Linked DNA regions of Homo sapiens: region 1 is linked to region 2. The links are contacts of gene promoters, found by promoter capture Hi-C in blood cells and fetal thymus (Javierre and others, 2016). All regions are on one chromosome and are shown on one strand. The core of a region is centred on a gene start or on the middle of the fragment in contact, and the rest is flanking DNA. Distances in the headings are between cores, read along the strand shown. Region 1 overlaps HHAT (hedgehog acyltransferase). Region 2 holds the start of KCNH1-IT1 (KCNH1 intronic transcript 1).

Region 1 (6,643 bases), core at 3,766-6,265, 510 kb after region 2:
AAGAAACCCGTCTCTGTAAACTGGAAAAGGTAAGGAAACAGCTTCTCCCCTATAGCCTCCAGAAGGAACCAGCCTTGCCAACACCTTGACTTTAGCCCAGTGAGACTGATTTCAAACTTCTGGTCCTCGGAACTGTAAGAAAAATAAACTTGTGTTGTTTTAAGCCAACAAGTTTGTAATAACTTGTTACAGTAGCCATAGGGAACCAATGTGGCAACACAGCAAGTGGTCAGCGTTCAGTGCCCTGGAAACTCTGATTAGCAGGAAAAAGTTTCCATAACCTAGCACAAAAGCTTTAAGTGTTCTCTGGTTGAAAGCCCTTCCTGGGTGTTTTAGAATTTGTTTCAGCTTTAACACAACCCCAGGTGCACTTCTGAATAAGGACTTTCACTCACTATTCCTCACATTCTATGCCTGGTTGACTTGGCTGGAATTACTTGTAGGAAAACTAATGCCCAAGGCCTCTGGCTGGCCATGTGGCATACAGTAAAGAAACCAAGGCTTCTGCAAGTCTTGACATTCAGATTCCAAGAATGGTCATAAATGGACCAATGATGTAAACACGGATAGACTGTCTAACCTACATCTACATGTCAACCTCATCACCCTTAGGTATGATGCACAGGAAGCACCTGCTTCTCAAACTCTTCTAGAACTCTCAGAGGATCCAGTGAGGTAGAGACACAATCAATGATAGCAGTGAAAACTCCACTTAGAGGGAAGGGCTAGGAAAGACCGCGAAACAAAGTCATCAGAAAGGATGGCCTCTGAGACACCGACACCTGCCCTCCGTCCTCTTTCATCAGAAATGAAATTTTTAATCCCAAGAATTTAAGAAGATATGATGGGAATGAGTTTCTATTTAATAACAACCCTCCAGAATCTCTAGTGCAATACTCCAGTTCAGCTTTAAATAAAATGCCTGTCCAGAACCATTTGAGTTAGGAGACAAATAAACTGCTCAGACAAGCTAGTAATCAGGGAGAAAATATACTTTCTCTTCTCTCAGCTAGAAATAGCAAGAAAATATGGGGACCTGCATAAGAAAATTACCAGCTCCTCTCTCATTGCAATCTAGAGGGAAAAAGAACCAAATTCTCCTTGCCTTGGCATGGGGTCACTCCAGGAGCTAAGTGTTAAGGCAGAGCTTGCCAAAATAGATAGGATAATAGAAGGAAAAACAAACATCCATGTGTGTACGTGTGCATGTGTGTACAGGTGTGTGTGTGTAATGAGGCATCAGACAAGGCAATGTTTGGTGGATGCCACATCTCTACCAAGCTCTTGTCACTGCAACATTATCACTGGATCACCCCAGTGATCCAGGCCCCACCACTTGGGAAATGTTTTGGTTTTCCTTTTTTTTCTTTTTTTTAAACAAAGTCCATGGCTTCCCTGGACAAAAGCAGGCAGACTTTTCAGAAGAAGCACCATTCTGCACCCATACACACATTATAAGGCTCTCCACCCTCTCAAGGCCAGATATATTCCCAGTGTATAAACACCCCCCCTTGAATACTTTTTCTCCTCATTACCCCAGGACGGTGGAGAGATCACTGCCAAGATGCTTAGGTCACAGCTGGTTTATGGGGACTGGCCTTGCTGGTCTGGAGTTACAACTCCTTGATACCTTTGAATTACAGAGCTCTATTCAGCTGCTTGTTGAAGATATTATGCTTCAATGTCAAAGATTTATGGTAGGCATGAGAAAGCTCCTTCTATTAACAAGTGCTTCTGAGAGCCAAAGGGCTTGTAAAAAGCAACCTGCATTGGTCTCTGCAAAGCATGACACAGCAGAATTCCTCCTAGAACAGCATTTGGACCAAATCTCCAGCCATATCCTTCTCAGATCCATGGACCAGCTAAGTCTTTTAAATAAAGTTTGTGAGCCCTAGATATGCATATTCCTCAAGCAGCTTGAAGTAAACTTCAATATTAAAAATTTGGAGTTTTTTTTAAAGCAAAAACATAGATTCCTTATTTTCTGCTGAATAAACTGAACACTACTTCTTCAACCTCAGCAGCAGAGGTAACACTTCCTGACCAAAACTGTTTTGTGGATGACATATTACCAGAGCCCTAGGTTTGCCACTGAGCATTTCTATCCCTTGCCTTCAGACTCTGTCTTCCACTCTTTAGACAGCAGGGCAGGGGCACAACAGAAAGGGAAGGGTCTGGTTTTACAGCCTCATATCACCCATATGACCCACAGAGACCAGGACAGACATTTTCATGGAAATCACTAAAATAAACTTTGTAGTTTAGAGCAAGCAAATCTATGGCTAAATTCAAGTGAACTGGTGACAGGAAGATACCAATTTTAAGACAACTTTTCCAGGCGAATCATGAGATACTTCTAGGCACATCAGTGATGCCAGGAGAGGGCTCCCTGGGAAACAATGAGGTGTATCTTTTAAGACACATGTGTATCCACACCCCATTAGCTGTGAGGTGTGTGCAAATCTCCTCAATAATCCCTATCTCCTAGATACCCGTCTGCCCCTTCCTGCTCTTCCAGGACTCTGAGGTGAGACCTGTTAGAGGGATGTGGTGTCAGTGGTTCCTCCCTCTTGCTGCAGCAGGTCCCAACCCATCAAGGTGCAGAGGGAAGGGCCACCTTTCCCTTAAACCTGGAAATCTAGACACTGAGCTTAAATGCTCTCCATGCCTAAAGTCAGCGTTCTCACTCGCTTCACTCTATTTCCTCAGTGTGTAAAGATGGGCTCTGGAGCAACAGGAACTGATCATGTGTCCCAGGGAAGATGCCAAGACTACAAGGCTGTCAAAGGTGCACATTTGTCAACAACTCCATATACAGTTTGACAATCCCTTAACTAAACTTTTTGGGGTCAGATGAGTTTCGGAATTCAGATTTTTTTAACTTTAGAAAGCTCATATATGAACACCCCCAGCAGAGACTGAGGGAGCATCGTATAGACTCATTATTTTTTTTCACCAAAACATGAATATTCATATTAATCTTCTATCAAGTCAAATTAGTTATGAAATGAAATCCAGAGTTCTCCAGGATGGGAGATTGGGCACCATCTGGTTCACTTTCCTCCAAGAGATATCTAAACCCAATCCTTCAGGGACAAAAACCCACAGCAAGGAATAGACGAAGCGGCAACTGCCAAAACCCCAGCAGACATTCCCTGACTCAGGAGGCCCATGGGACAGACCAGCAGAGATGCAAACAGGCTCATTTGGATAATCACTGACATAGAAAAAGCCTTCTAAGCTGAGTTTCTCTGGCCTCAGAACCCAGAAGAGAGATGATTCCACAGAGCCCTCCACTTTTATAGAATCAGAGTTCCCAGGGCTGTGGCACCTGAGTCCAAGGAGGACACAAATAGTGCGTTCAGTCACAGACCATAGCTGGTCCCATGAGGCAGCAGCAGACCGGGTTTTCAGAGCCCAATCCCATGTGACTGAGGTTAACTCCATAGGATGTCAGGCAAGTCACACTTTGATCTTCCTGCCTTTCTCTCTGCCCCCTTCAATACCAGCATTCCCTGGGGTTTCTCCCACCTGTTCTCTTCTCATTCTACACAGCTCCGTGGTTAATTGTGTCTACTCCCCTGGCCTCACATACAATCTTTACGCCCTTGACCCCCACACATCTCAATCACTGGTCCCACCATCTTCTCCAACTCATATTTCCAACTGCCTCTTGGGCATTTCTGACCAGGCCCATGTGCCTCTCCTGCTGTGCCATAGACAGCTGGTGCACACTGATATCTGCATGCTTCCCTACACACCCCTGCCCTGTACTTGGGTTGGTCATATGACTGGCTCTGGCCAATGACATGTAAGCAGAAATGTCACATGTTTGAGCACCTGGTGCACCAGTCTCATGTTCTCTTCCCCTCCATGATGCCAGCACAAGACAGTGGAGAATCAAAACAAAGATTCTAGGTCCTGGAGTCACTGCTTAGAAAAAGCCACTGGATTTGTATTGAACTGTCAGAGAAACAAACTTCTATGGTGAGAAATTACTAAGATTTTGGAGTTTCACACAAAGCAGCCAGTGTTAATTTCCCTGATATGCCTGCCTTTTCTACCTAGCAAACTCCTAAATTATTACTTCAATTCAAATGCCACCTCTTCTGAAAAGCCCATCTTCTGTGGAAAGTCAGCTACTCTATCCTGTGACCTCCAGTAACTCACTCATACATCCAGCAGAGCAATTCCCTGAATCTACTGCACATTTTTGTGTGTTTGGCACTCACATTCGTGTGAGCTTCCTTTTTCATCTCTGTGTTCTCAGTGCCTCGCAAGTAGCAAACATCCAATGCATTTGATTTAGGGAAGCGAAAATCAGAGCCTCCTCATTATGTGACAAGCAAACCAAGTCCGCACTTTCCCCCCACCAAGTCACAATGTTCTTATCATTGTGCTAGGTTCTGTGAGAGGAGCCAAGAAAAGTAAAGGATGCTGTAACCCACCTTTATCTTTAGATCCATAATGCCCTATTATCTCTCATCTTTATTAAAGGACAGCTTTCGCTTAGAAAGTACGTGGTCTTTTCAGGAACTATCAGCTAAAACATCGCACAGAAAACAAGATCAAAGAGGGGTCTTTTAGTGACAAGATTAAAGTAGAACAGGACTCTCTCTTGGCCCTTTGAGCCTGGCTCACCCAAGGCTGCCACAGTTTAGGCCCATGGTCTGCCATTCTGGAATACTGCAGCTGTGTTGCTGTTATTTCTGGTGTGAAAAGAGCTGCAGCAAAAGCACCGCTGCCTCCTCAGGGACCCAGATGTGGAGATAATGGGCCAGCTGTGCAGAGTTATGTCATCACCACTTGGCAAAGCTTCCCAAAGCAAAAGCACAAGACTGTGTCACTGGGCAGGGAACAGAGCAGGGATCTTCTCTTTTAAGATGTAGCAAGTTGGCTATAGTAGTATGTACCATGAGTAGTTCCAAATCTCCCAATTCTCTTATAGATATGATGTAACTCAGTCCCAGCCCAAGGGAAATGGTGACCATAAATAAACAACGATCAATTATTAATAGAATGTTTTGACAACTCCCACATAGTAGCAGTTTACCTGCTGCAAGTATGGTTTTGCTTTGGATATTCAGATTATCTATTTAATGCACATTAAACATAAGGTTGGCCCCTAGTATTCACACAAAAATACCCACAACCAAGAGCTGTGGCAAACACAGATGCCATGCCCACAGCTTCAGGAGAGCACAAGGAAGCTTCTAGGGCAAATTCCTAGTAGGACGTTCAGAGCAATAAACAAAACAAGGTTAGATTTTGCAGTATATTGCAGGCTAGGACCCACAGACAGTAGGTGTCTTTGTTGTCTGTTGATTATAACAGAATATCTAAAACTGTATAATTTATAAAGAAATGGAATTTATTTCTTACAGTTACGGAAGCTGAGAAGTCCAAGGTCAAGGGGCTGCATCTGGTGAAGACCTTCTTGCTGGTGGGAACTCTCTGTAGAGTCCCCAGGTAGCACAGGGCATCACGTGATGAGGAGGCTGAGCATCCTATCTCAGGTCTTTCTTCCTCTTCTTGTAAAGTCACCAGTCCCACTTCCATAATAACCCATTAATCCATGAATGGGTTAATCCATTCATGCGGGCAGACCCCTCATGATCCAATCACCTCTTAAAGGCCTCATCTCTTAATAATGCCAATTGGGGATTAAGTTTCAACATGAGTTTTGAAGGGAATATTCAACCACAGCAGTAGGAAAGATTAAGAAATATCAAATAATTGGAAACATAGTGTAATGGAAGGGAATATACACTTTGGGAGAGTTGGAATAATACCTTTTGGTGTTAAACAAGTATCACATACAGGAGATATGGGGTACCTCAAAAACAGGGGACACTTAAAGTCATAGTCAAACTTAGGAAATTATTCCTGGCTGGTACTTTAGAGGTCACATGCCATGAACATAACAATGAATGACTTCCCCCAAATCCCATCCATCCCATGTATGATCCCATCCGCATACATGGAAAACAAGAAACTGACTGAAAACAGCACTGTCAAGCAACTTACCTTGTATGAAGATCCTATTCCAGTAGGTTTTCCCAACCTCATTGCCCCCAAGAAATACCAGGTTGGACAGGATCAGCATCGAGGTGGAACAAGAAGCAAGGGCAGCGTGGAATCGACGGCGAGCTTGTGGGGAGAAGTATCGGGCCTACGGGAAAAATGGCAAGAAAGCATCTCATGACAAGGGTGGAAAAAATGGGGCTAAGATACCATCCAGCTTTCTCTGTCACCAGCCCAGGACGCCTCCCCACAGAGCCCAAACCAGGTCATTATTTAAACAGCTCTCAAAACTTCAATTCCTGTCTGGGCGTGGCAGCTCATGCCTATAATCTCACACTTTGGGAGGCCAAGGTGGGAGGATCACTTGGGCCCAGGAGTTCAAGACCAGCCTAGGCAACATAGTGATATACCATCTCTACAAAAACAATTTAAAAATTAGCTGGGCATGGTGGCATATGACTGTAGTCCCAGCTACTCGGGAGGCTAAGGTGGGAGGATTGCTTCAGCCCGGGAGTTCGAGGCTGCAGTGAGCCATGATCACACCACAGGACTCCAAGTCTGGGTGACAGAACAAGAGCGTGTCTCGAAACAAAACAAAAGTGTACTCTTGCACCATGTT
Region 2 (6,321 bases), core at 2,495-4,994:
TACAGGAGGAAAGAAGCCTAGAAATAGTAGACTCACATTTTAGAATTTATTTCAGACTCTGTATCTGAACTCTGTATCCCTGCAGAAAATGGGCTACATTTTCTGCATGGAAGGATAGAGGCAGTTGAATTGGAACTCTGGTCACAGTTATTTAAAGTTGTCCCTTTAAATGAAGGAGTGGCTTTGTCTGTTATGCAAAAATATAAGCGTTCTCAATTGGTTTGCCATGGTACATTGGTATATTGTGAATCCTTTAGAAATCTGTTACCAAGTTTTGACAAATCTGTAAGATTAAAGTTTACTCTAACTGAGATTCCCATATTACAGAGGTAGATCTCAGACAGAACTTTAAGTTGAGCAGGTGCTGGAACTGAATGTCAAGGAGGGAACAAAAGGTGGCAAGTAAAAGGTAAGAAGCACAGTATCCCGTCAACTAGCACCAAGAAAGAGGGAGTGTTTACTGGAATATTGAGAATGTGGCTGTGGACAGGGCAGAACATGATTTTATTCCTGCAGTCAGATGTGTTGTGAGTGAACCAAGGGAATGGGGGAAAAACTGGATGTACCTCCACAGACACCATGAGACACTCACATTGTGATGAAAGACTGCTGACTTTTTAGCAATTTAATTCTTAAATATTTATTTTATTTAAAAATCCATGAACACCTCCAGCTTTTTTTTTTTTTTTTATGGCAAAACAGTTCATTGTAGCTGTTCACGTAGTAATTATCTTCCTCTTGCATCCCCAGGTAATGACTGTGATCTTGACCTAAAAGCCACCTTAGTTAGTTTGAATAAGGAAGACCTTGAAAGGAAAGGTAACTGACCAGAAACACTCTTAAGAAGCACACAATGAAGAAATGATCATTTCTAAGCAAGTACTTAAAGTGCCATAACACAGTATAACAGTGCTTTTATAAGCATCCAGTCTTATTTAAGCAAAAAGACGTAAAATAATGTGATCGTGTTATGGCACACAATCTGGAGGTTTAAAACTTTAAAAAAAAGAACCACTTTGTAGTAGCACTATTTTGTTTTAGGTCTTTTAATTTCTTCAAGTGTGCCACCAAAAATTGTAGTATTCAAAAAGGTGCCAATACACACACACATACACACACACACAGAGTCCATGTTGAGATCCATTTCAGTAGTACATTTAAAATGGAAGACATCTTATTTCTTTTTCTCATCAGGTTGCCCACCAAGGCTTTAACATCTCTGATCTCAAACTAATATCATCTGTTTCCTTTTTTATCTAAGCCACAGAACATGAGAGCTCATTAAAACCTTAGAAATTTTATTAACTCTCTATGATAGTTTTCCCCTCCACATTATTTTCTTTATCTTCCTTTCACAAGCAGGATTATGAGGTTTCTTGATGGGTTTTTAATATTGTCATGAAAAATCTTCCCTTGGCATGTTTGTGCGATAACACAACTTTAAAAACCTTATTTAAATGAACTTATTCAAATGAAGTGGATAGGCACCAAACTGGCTCAGCTCAGCACCAAATACATTTCAGAATCAAGTTCTCTTCAACCAGTGTTATCTCATTTGTAATAGAACAAAGAACCACTAGACGGAGCTAGGGTTTAAGAAATCACTGTTCTAGACTAGGTAACAGGCGATGGGTAGAAGGCTATCTTAAGGAAAAAGTGTATCATTACTTGCATTTCAAATCCTATGACAGTCTTATCCAACTCTCTGCTAACAGCAATCTGTTTACTTTGTCTCTACACAAGACGAGATAAAGGGTGATATTCGTAATGGCCCAATTTATTTAGTCACTCCAATAATGACGTCTGACCTTGGCACAGCACTTTACAATTTAAGGTGCTGTCCCCATACATAATTCTTGCTTGATCTTCACAGCAACTCTGAGAGATTTCTGGGCAAGAATTAGTTCTTCTGTTTTTGAAATTAATTAACTGAGACAGGATGTCTTTGCAATACATTAGGATATGTCAGGATGGCTAACCCAGACAATTAATTTTCAGGGTTAGTTTTTTTTTCTCTTACATTTTTGTGTTGACTGTTGACTCAGTCTGAAACTAGTAAACTCTCCATTCATTTCTCCTGTGGGACATAGGCTTAGTCTCCCACCGCACCGACTGGGGATACATAGTAAAAAGGCAGGTACAGACTATGTGTGGGTCGAAATCCCCCAAAATAAGTGAACAAACGACCGTTGTCTTAGCCCCTGTCCAGAAACCTTGGGTGTATGTGGTTCTTCCGTATACCAGGGGTCAGCTGTAAAAACTAACTGTATCCTCTGCACTACAGACTACCCTTCAAGCCAAAGCCACGGTTGCTTAATTAATGCTGCCCCTCTCCTGAGCATTCGCCCTTAGAGACAAGTCCACCCCTTTGATGTTTGTCAGGCAGTTTGATACTGATCATACCAAACATCAGGAGCCTGCATTTGTGTCTACGGTAAAAACAACCCAAGACAACTCTTCTGAAGCTGAATCTGCCAGTCACTCTAAATCTGCACTATTGCAATACGACTTCATTAATTACTGCTCAAACACTGGCCTAGAATCAAGGTGGGGCAACTTTCACTAGTCAGGCTAACCTTACAGGAAGGCAAGAAGGTGTTCCCAGAGCCTCACAGGTCCCGGGGGCCCCGGCCTGAAACAGAGCAAAGGAAGAGAGTTACATCAGCACGCTCCCCTAAGACTTGTTGGGGGTGAATCCGCCCTGAAAGCTGCTCACAATGCCCTCCTCTCCACCCAGCCCATGGCACATCCTGAACACATTTCCCGGCTGAACCCAGAGGGTGGCGCTGCCGTCCCAGCCTTGGTCCACGGCCGCCCGCCACTTCCCTGCCTCTGCGGGAGCCCCCCAGCTTGGTCTCCCGCAGGCCGGCGGTGGGGCACGAGCCCGGTAGGGGGCGCCGCCGGCCCAGGCGCCGCTGCTCCCTCCGCCCACCCGGAGGCGGCTGCCGCTAGCCGAGGCCGGCGCGAGTGCACTGCGAGGCGGGCCGCAGGGAGGGAGGCGCGAAGAGGGCGCGAGGGTAGCAGCCAGAGGGAGCCGCCAGCCCTGCCTGCGGATCCCCGCCGGGCGCATGGGGCGCTTCGAGCCGGGACTGCGTGCGGGCCCCGAGGCCAGTTTCCTGCTGTCGTAAGAAGCCGCGCCAGGACGCCCGCCGGACCCCGAGCTGCTGGGAGGATGACCATGGCTGGGGGCAGGAGGGGACTAGTGGCCCCTCAAAACACGTTTCTGGAGAATATTGTTCGGCGGTCCAATGGTAAGAGGTGCATTCGGATTTCGATTACCCGGGCGTTTTATCCGTGCCTTTATTGCAGAACCTCTCGCCGCTCGGAGCCAGCAGATGCAGCAGAACCCGCGAGCTCTGCTAAGGAGCCGCGGCGCGGGCACCCAGGGCAGCCTCCCCGAGGCAGAGAAAGGTGGGCAGGGCGGGGCGGGGTCTGATGGGTCCCCATCCTAACAGGAGAGCTCTTCTGGGGACGCCTTTTGGGCCTTTCTAGCGCCCTCTCGGTCTTATCTCCAAGGATGCGTGACAGCTGCTGAGCAAAGTACTGGGAAAAGTGATGGAAAGCTGGCTGCAGCCGGAGCGGCAGCGCGCGCCCCATCGGCACTGCCCACCCTTCCGCGAAGGCTCTGGGGCTCCCGGGCTGCTCCCAGAGGCGCCGCCTCTCCCCAGGGAGAGCCAGCAGTAGAGACGGGCAACTCCAGGTCCCCGCTGCCTCAGAATGGGAGGATCCGGCTGCCTCCACCTTCCATCCCTGCAACTGAAAAGTCCGAGGTGTCGGGACGTGCTCTCGGCGGCCTGATTCCACCCCTTCACCCACCCACCACTTTCTAGGTGAAGTTAAGGCTCACCTTCGAAGTGAGGGGCAGATGGTTTTCCTGGCGTCAGGTGGGAAGTGGAGGGCACAGGTGCAGAGCGAACTAAATGGTCACAGGTACAAACCTGTTATATTTCCCCTCTTCCAAACCCACAACGGTTTTATGCCACCCTTAAGTGTTGCTCACCTATAAATTCCCAATCTCACCAAACCTATAAATAGATCCATTACCCAATAAACTGACAATCAGCACTCATCTGTTTCCTTGTGGCATTAAGATCGACGGTAGCATGAAGCCTTGAGAGGCGAGAGTCCTAGGAGCGGGGATGGAAAGGAAGAATTCCAAACGCCTTTCGGACTTAACAGAGGAGAGACCCCAACTAAGCACTTGCAGAGCGACTAGGAGTCCTGGCAGTTGGAAGGCGCAGCGCACGAGTTCATCAAATGGCTATATTGAAAGATAGCCAAGCATAAGATGCTCTTTGCAGACTCCTAGAGCCCCCACCCCACCCCTTCCAGAAACAGATGACATTCTTCTACCAGGGAGACATGAGGAGCTAACTTAGGAAATGGGTTTTAATAATGTGTAAATATCACGATTTCAGAGTCTAAGGAGCTTCTGTGTAAAATGATGAGCTTCTGTTTGGATTTAGTTAGGGATTCAGGGGAAGGGCATGAAAAGTGACTTATGCTACTAATAAACACTCTTTAATTAAACAGTGATTTAAGTTTATCTTATAATGAAACACATCAACTAGCATAGCAAATAATCACGTATTATTTAAGTACTTTCTTAGAAATGATCATTTCTTTATTGTGTGCCTCTTAAGAGTGTTTCTGGTCAGTCACCTTTCCTTTCAAGGTCTTCCTTATTCAAACTAAGGTGGCTTTTAGGTCAAGGTCACAGTCATTACCTGGGGATGCAAGGGGATGATAATTGCTATGTGAACAGCCACAATGAACTGTTTTGCCATAAAAAAGCTGGAGTTGTTCATTTATTTTTAAATAAAATAAGAGTTACTGTGCTATTATTGCTATTTTTATTGGACTATTAAGGGGTATGGAGACAATCTTGCAAATTTGGTTATCCCATTGTCAGTGACACCAACTTTCTCATAAATATCAATGACAATTCTATTTTTCAGTAAAGAGGCAGTGCCCTGTAAGTTAGAGGGGAAACCCAGTACCTAATGTATACTGTGTATGTTTTTGAGTGGAGGGAGCAGGAAGAGAAACTTACATGTAAAAGTCACAAGATGCCTTGGGTTTTAAGGGAACCTTAAGAATCTTGGAGCTGTGAAGGCAGAATACTGTCTATTTTAGTTGATCTTATTAGAGCCACTTTCCCTCTGTAATCATAGAATGTGAATAGAATAAGTCACTGGGAATATTTTTAGGATGGGCATTGTCATTTCAACACCAGTTTCAGCAGGTTGATTTCAATTAACCAATCAAATGAATAGCATCAAAAAAAATGAAGCATCTTGGGAGAGTTGGATGAATTTTTAAAATTATTATTTCAGAATAAATGGTTCTCATCTTGAAATATGGGACTCAATGTTTAAAAGGTGATCCCTTTTATAATATTTCCTGAACACAAATGGAAGAAAAAATGTGAACTCCTAGAAATATCACAATATCTGCATGCATTATATTATTTTACTGTGGTGGAAAAAGTCTATTTAAAGATATTGATTGTCTCATTCTAAAATCCATGAGCCCTTTTTTGGACATTACGGTATTAAAATAGCATTTTACCTTTGAATAGCAATATTTTATGATCATTTTATTAGATATTTTCTCCCAGTGGTCCTGTGCAGTATTAATGTTCCTCTTTTACAGATCAGAAAACTGAGTCCTAGGAATATTAAGTGGCTTATTCAAAGTGGCAGAGCAAACAATGCCTGAGGCTGGTATTCCTTAGAGGACATCTATCATATATCCTTCTCTCAGCATTATAATTTCTCCAGCTTTTATGACTTAGTCTGTGGAACTATTTTTATCATCCTTTAAAAACTTCTCATATGATAATGAATAATAGTACTGACTTCATTTTGGGTTATTTGAATATCTGATGCCCGGAATATCATAGAGCTGTGGGAAGAGACAGACCTTAAATATTATCTAGTCTGCCTCTCCTTCCCCATCATTGTATAAATAAGGAAATTGATGCAAGAGGCTTTCCTCAAATATTTAAGGGCAGAACTAATGAGGCCCCAAACCATTTGAGTCCAATGTCAGATTCTTTATGGTACACCATGCAAAAACCCTTTCCTCATGTTACCATTATATTCTCTCAAGAAGCATAATTTCCCAGTGGAGATTAAATAAAATGTTATAACAACAAGAACAACATCCATCTTGGCTAACAGCCACACTACCACATCTCAACAGAATAATAGGGCAAAGGAAAGGCTAATTATATTTCAAGGAAATGCAGTCTGTTCACCTTTGTCAGTGGTTTAGCTGAAGGCAAAGGCGGGGATAATGGGCACTTAACATCTGTGT

The links. The method cuts DNA at HindIII sites, captures the fragments that hold promoters and counts their contacts. A CHiCAGO score of 5 or more calls a contact.
Region 1: a fragment that was not itself captured here is called in contact with the fragment with the promoter of KCNH1-IT1 in region 2 in 2 of 17 cell types (megakaryocytes and erythroblasts); the score reaches 6.2 in megakaryocytes.

Annotation. Positions count from the first base shown.
Region 1 is chr1:210,623,055-210,629,697 of GRCh38, reverse strand. HHAT (hedgehog acyltransferase) reads right to left here. Exons shown (of 12, transcript NM_018194.6): 11 at 6,028-6,172. Among named protein-coding and RNA genes, the nearest start is that of HHAT, 300 kb to the right of the region's middle. The HindIII fragment of the contact is 395 bases long and covers 4,818-5,212 here.
Region 2 is chr1:211,130,797-211,137,117 of GRCh38, reverse strand. KCNH1-IT1 (KCNH1 intronic transcript 1) reads left to right here and starts at 3,744. Exons shown (of 2, transcript NR_046784.1): 1 at 3,744-3,930; 2 at 4,092-4,839. It overlaps KCNH1 (potassium voltage-gated channel subfamily H member 1), which reads left to right and starts at 2,970. Exons shown (of 11, transcript NM_172362.3): 1 at 2,970-3,251. The coding sequence starts at 3,173. RefSeq lists silencers at 2,789-3,068, 3,563-3,753, 4,980-5,180. The HindIII fragment of the contact is 10,582 bases long and covers 1-6,321 here.